Regions from separate parts of the Homo sapiens genome. Here region 2 is linked to region 1. Evidence: promoter capture Hi-C in human tissues and cell types (Jung and others, 2019). All regions are on one chromosome and are shown on one strand. Each heading gives the region's core, a stretch centred on a gene start or on the middle of the fragment in contact. The rest is flanking DNA. Distances are from core to core; before and after follow the strand shown. Region 1 holds the start of ELAVL2 (ELAV like RNA binding protein 2). Region 2 overlaps LOC101929563 (a long non-coding RNA gene).

Region 1 (2,774 bases), core at 76-2,575:
TGCAGAGGGGTTCCCCCTCTCCCCGAAGGCGAAGTCAGCCGCGTAGGACCAAGGACAGGGCTTGGAATCCACTTCCCAGCGCCCAGCACAGCGAGGCTCCCAAGCAGCCGGCACTTCATAGACACAGCTCCAAGGATCTTATTTACGCTTTTCTGAACAAAGGGAATCTCATATCCGGTACAGGCTTAAGAATTCAGCCCCAAATTGGCTATCTTCTTTTAAAACTGAATTATGATAATTGGAGTCCGTGAATCAGAGCCCGCATACAATGATGAGTTCTGACAGCTTCTAACAACCCTAGCCTCAGCCCAGCCCCAGCCCCAGCCCTCAGGCGGCATGTACTTTTTTCAGTCAACTACAACTCGCTGCCTGGTGCAGCATCTAAATTCCATCTGGCAATCCCATCTCCCCAGCACATGCTATCTGGTTAATGCAATTAAGCCTGTGGTTTTCGCTGGTCTAATCTGCCAGTCCAGGCTTCTGATTCCCCTTAATGATTGTAAAGCCTCTCCCGTCCTTCCGTTGCTGAGCCAAAGTAGAGGCATGCATCCCCAACACCCAAGTTATCACTCTCTCCCCACGAAATGAACTTCCGATCTCAATCTTGAAGCTCACTCCACATCTAACCTCCCATTGTACCCCTACTCCCCCCTGGCCACATTTACCACTTAAGTTTCTGCCATGGACATTTACGAATATTCAGTACGCTAAGCATGCGTCCACCGTCTTTTAGTCTAGCTCTTTAAAATTAAAAAAGCAGAACAGTAGCTTTGAAATGAGACAAACATGTGCAATTAACTTCATATTCTGTATTCCGCTCACTTACAGGTTTTCTGGGTTTGCCAGCGCATCGCTGCAACTAATGATTAAAGAAACCAAACCGAAACTTACCTTTCTCCCTTAAGGTTTTTGTGTATGTGTGTTTTTAAAGTAACGGTGCAGTTCTCCCAATAAGGATGAGCAAGAAGCTGCTGGATAGTTCTCTTAAGACAGCACGAAACCTAAACTGTGCTCGGCTTAAAAGAAGCAAATAAAAAGAAACGCTTTCGACCCCAAAGTCCAATGCTAAAAGAAATGGCGAAAAAAAATATGAAAGGGGAGGGGAAACTTAAAAAAGAGTTTAAAAAGACGGAGAGACTACCCTCCTATTGCCGTTCAACTAAACAAAAAGGGGCAAGAAAAACAAACCAAGGAACAAAGAAAAGAGACGAAAGAACGTTTTTTCAAAAAGACGATGTCTTTCTCCTTGTTGCTTTTTAGTAGGTCGCTACAGGAGTAAGCTGCTGCATCTCTAACTAAGAACAGAAATAGGGGGGAGGACGTCTTAAAAGGGAGGTGGACTGGACCACAGATTTATAGCACCGTATCACCAACCCCTTCTCTGCCTCCGCACTGCCGTGTGTGCAGCTGCTCTGCCAGGCTCCTATCCCGGGCAGCACGCGCGGAAGTATACGCCGAATCGCGCCACAACGTAACTTGCTCATCGCCCCAGGATCCTGATTGGTCCACACGCTTCCATTGAGGCCGCCCAGGCGGGGCCGCGTGAGACGATTGGCTATGGGCTTGTGTCACTCTCGAGAGCTCAATGGAGTCCCGTTTCAAGGTAAGTTGTGCGGGGAGGTACACTCTTAACACTGGCGGCGAAGGGAAATGCAAGAAGCAAAAAGAAATGTGGAGAGAGCAACGTGGGAGGGTTGGAACTGTACTATCAGAGTTTGCGATATGGCACGATCTCCTTTCCTCTTAAATCTTTCTGCTTCAGAAAGATTCATTTCCTTTGCCATCACTGCTGCATCTGTGGCATATTTCTTTATAACATTTAACTCTGTCCGGTATGTATGAGTCATTGAGAGCTCCCTCTCTTTGATCTGAGTGAAAGGGATGAATGTACATCCATTATTTGCCCGCATGCCTTTTTTCGATTTGTGTTCAGTACTGTATTTTGTATTAGATGTTAGGTAATTGTATGTCTTTATTTTAATATACGCATATTTCAGATTTATGTGTCCCCATGAACCCCTTTTTAAAGCATCCTTTTAAGATAAAGATGAAGTCAGAAATGCTCTCAAATAAAGCTGCACGGTTTGAATTGGCTTTCACTTCATGTTAGAATAGAAAAGTGTAGGATAAATATCCTATCCAGAAAAAGAGGTATTGAGTAGAGCTAAGGTCCTTCACTTCGAGGTGTCTAATGATTCTCAAAAAGAGCAGCTGTATATAAAACTGGAACAAGCCACTCCTCTGCATTTGCAGACAGGTACAGTCCTTGGACCACACATGTATTGCTGACAGCAAAGATAGTTGAACCTTTATCAGGGCTCTTTCTGTGAGGATTTAAGAAGTTTAACCAGAAGACCAAGTGCTATCAATGCTTCTGCTTCATAGAGGAAGACTACTTTATTACAACCCCATATTTTAACAGCATTCAGGAGACCAAAATACAGTTTTATGCATGATAATTGTTTCTTCCTCTAAGTGAAAGTGAGGTCCTCAGGATCGTCTGGATGTATAAGTAGACACAATATTCATTTGACCTACGTTCTTTTCCAGCCAGCATTTCTCTTTTCAATCTTGAAAGATAGCACCAACTTCCTAGACAGTTTTTACCATTCTTACCAGAATGTGTAAATGTAATGTACACATTACATTACACATGTAATGTGTCTTAACCAGAGGCACATGCCTTTTTGAAAGGGATTCCTTTACATATTTACAACTAGTCGCTATCTTTGAGAATGCCGGAAAAAGAAGACACAGGTAAGAGTTAGAGATTG
Region 2 (2,700 bases), core at 1-2,500, 270 kb before region 1:
AAGGAGTGTCGGTAGACTTTAGATTTTAAGAGATCTTTGGGGGACTCCCTAGTTAGATGGCTTTCAAGACACATGGCCTCTCCTAGCTTCCATCTTCCCATCTGGAAATTCAGATATTAATAGTGCTCACTTGGCAGGACTGTTATATTATGTGATAATGTGTGCAACGCAAATCTCTCTCTGCCTGATGCAAAGTAAATGGCATGAGATGCCTTTTTTCCCCCCCTTAGCACCTCCTGGTTACTTCTCCCTTTATCCAAGCTCCTGCTTCTCCACAGCAATATTGTACCTGAGCAGAGGATTCTGGATGATCTCACCAATGTGCTAACCGTGAGGGCGATTTAAGGTGAGCAGCCTTTTCTTCTGAGTCTCTTGCCTGGGTGTTGGGCAAATGCTTCCACCGGCTGGCTGACATATGTGGCCTGCTGCAGACTAATTTCTTGTGACATGTTGCCTTGAATGCACAGTCACAGAGCATGTGCTGAAGTGCTAAACACCCCCAAACTGTGCACTTTCCAATCTGTGAAAGCTTTTTGGTGGGTCCAGGCTTTTTTTCTAGACCTGAGGCATTATAATGAGGAAGCACATGGACACGTCATTGAGGCAATCTGTCACCTTGCAAATGCTTAATAGCAGCAGCAGGACCTGTGTGTCCCTCTCAGTGAGCCAGACACCACCACACAGCTGCTCTTCTGTTGAAGTTGTTGCTGCATTAATGAGCTTCCAGACAAAGGCATGACTGTGTGGTGTGTAGCTCAGGGTCCGCACGCAGGCTGGGAGTAATGCACAGAGGGAGACCTATGCTCAAAAATAATACTTCATTTGCAAAAAACTGGTTTGGAGCCCACAGGAATTACTGTGTTTCTTTAGACTTCAAAACTTGTAAAGGCCGGATCATCCTCCTGCAATATTTTACGATAACAGTAGCATGTTAACAGTTATCTGATCCTCTAGGGTTTATAGTGTTTTCACACTTTGAACCTCACCATATCACTGTAAACGTATTGTTTTACGGATGAGAAAATTTGAGTCCTTCAAAGGTTCAACAAAATACACAAGTTCATGTGGTTAATAAAAGGCAGGGACAGCCCTTGAATGGAGACCTGTATGACTCCAGGTGCTTGACTTTCTGAAGAATTATCACCAGACTTACTCTCAGTTCCCCCATATGTACTAAGATGTCACTGAAACAGCTAAAAAGGAAGCTTCTGATAGAAGGAGCTTTCAAGGGACTGAACTTCTCCATTAAGATTTTAAGTCCTTTATCTGCCAGCATGTTAAAGGAGACTAGGGCATCCCAGACATTTTTCAAAAGCTAAGCCTTACACCCAAAGCAGGTCCTTCCTCTGCCTTGCTTATGATGATGATGTAGGAACCTTATGTGATACCTCACACCACCAATATAGGAGAGTAACAACTGAAACAGAACCAAGAATATAGAACAGATGTAGAAATCAAACCCCAAACTACCTCTACTACTTCTACGACTACTATTAATAAAATAATAATGCAGATAAAACAGCAATAACAAAAATAACAGTAGTCAGCATTTCTTTAGCCTCTACCATATAACACTTACTGTTTGCATACATTATCTTGAATTCTCCCAACAATCATCAAATAGGGGTTGTCGTCCCTCTGCAGATGAGGACACTGTGGTTCAGAGTGGTAAAGGAACTTGCTGGAGGCCACAGAGTTTGTACATGGCAGAATGAGGCAAGATGCTCAGGTGTCCCGACTCCAAGGCTGTGCTATTTCCATTGGGCCATACTTGCCTTCTCTCAAGGAGATAGATAATCACCAAACTAGTGAGTAGTGTTCAGGAGGTTAGGAATCCCCATAACCCAGTGTGGCCAAGGCTGACAAAGCCTAATAGGTGCATAGCTGCTCCTTCTGATCATCCAAGGCTAACAGTTATCCTTCAGGACCCAGAAAATGGGTTTCAATAACCTGCTTTTAATTTTCTGTGCCTGGCCAAGAAATAATGAACAAAGGGACAACTTCTAAAAAAAATCTGGCTTCAGGTGTGAGTTCAATCAAATCCTCTGACAGTGTGTTAAAGTATCTGTGTATGTGCACACACACCCACATTCATGCCACACAGGTGTAGGATGCGAGCAGAGAACAGTAGGCTGATTCCATGTCCTTTTCTGCCTCCTGACAGCTATGAAACTACAAGTGGGTAGATTATAGTTGAAGATAAAAATAGACATTATACTGCCGCTTTCTCTTCCCAGCTTTTTAGTCGCTCCAGCTTGAAAGCATATTGTAGCATTTTATTGTAGTCTAGGCTCTTGTGGCTTCTCTTGTTTGCCATTCCTTTTTGGAAAACTAGAAACATTCCCTCTCCATGGGGAAATGAACTCAAGTAAGTGAGAGAGAGGCGGCAGAGTGCGCACATGTGTGTCTGTGTGTGCCTGCTTGTGTGCACGCTCATGTCCTTCCACGCCTGAGGGAGGAAAGGAGGTGGAATGAGTGCATGTGTGTGCCTGTGTCCCACTGCCTCTAAGAGAGGAGAGGAGGCAGAGTGTGAATCTGAATAGAGCGGAAATTGGAAATTGACACAGCTGTTTTTGTTTCACTGTAACCATTTTTAGAACCTCAGGATGCACTAAGCTTCCAAAGGAGGCAGCCCACTCAGCCTTGGGATTCAACACTAGCCAAGAGTGAGTAGTGATTTGAAGGCACTGGATGCATCAT

Evidence for each region. Contacts are between HindIII fragments. The study calls those that stand out against the background at their distance.
Region 2: a contact is called between a fragment that was not itself captured here and the fragment with the promoter of ELAVL2 in region 1, in 2 of the 25 tissues and cell types used here (dorsolateral prefrontal cortex and mesenchymal stem cells).

The regions. Positions count from the first base shown.
Region 1 is chr9:23,824,915-23,827,688 of GRCh38, forward strand. It overlaps ELAVL2 (ELAV like RNA binding protein 2), which reads right to left and starts at 1,326. Exons shown (of 7, transcript NM_004432.5): 1 at 892-1,326. It overlaps LOC105375992 (a long non-coding RNA gene), which reads left to right and starts at 1,514. Exons shown (of 3, transcript XR_929519.3): 1 at 1,514-1,603. The HindIII fragment of the contact is 12,029 bases long and covers 1-2,774 here.
Region 2 is chr9:23,550,961-23,553,660 of GRCh38, forward strand. It overlaps LOC101929563 (a long non-coding RNA gene), which reads right to left. Exons shown (of 28, transcript NR_121602.1): 13 at 1,580-1,970. Among named protein-coding and RNA genes, the nearest start is that of ELAVL2, 270 kb to the right of the region's middle. The HindIII fragment of the contact is 3,320 bases long and covers 1-2,700 here.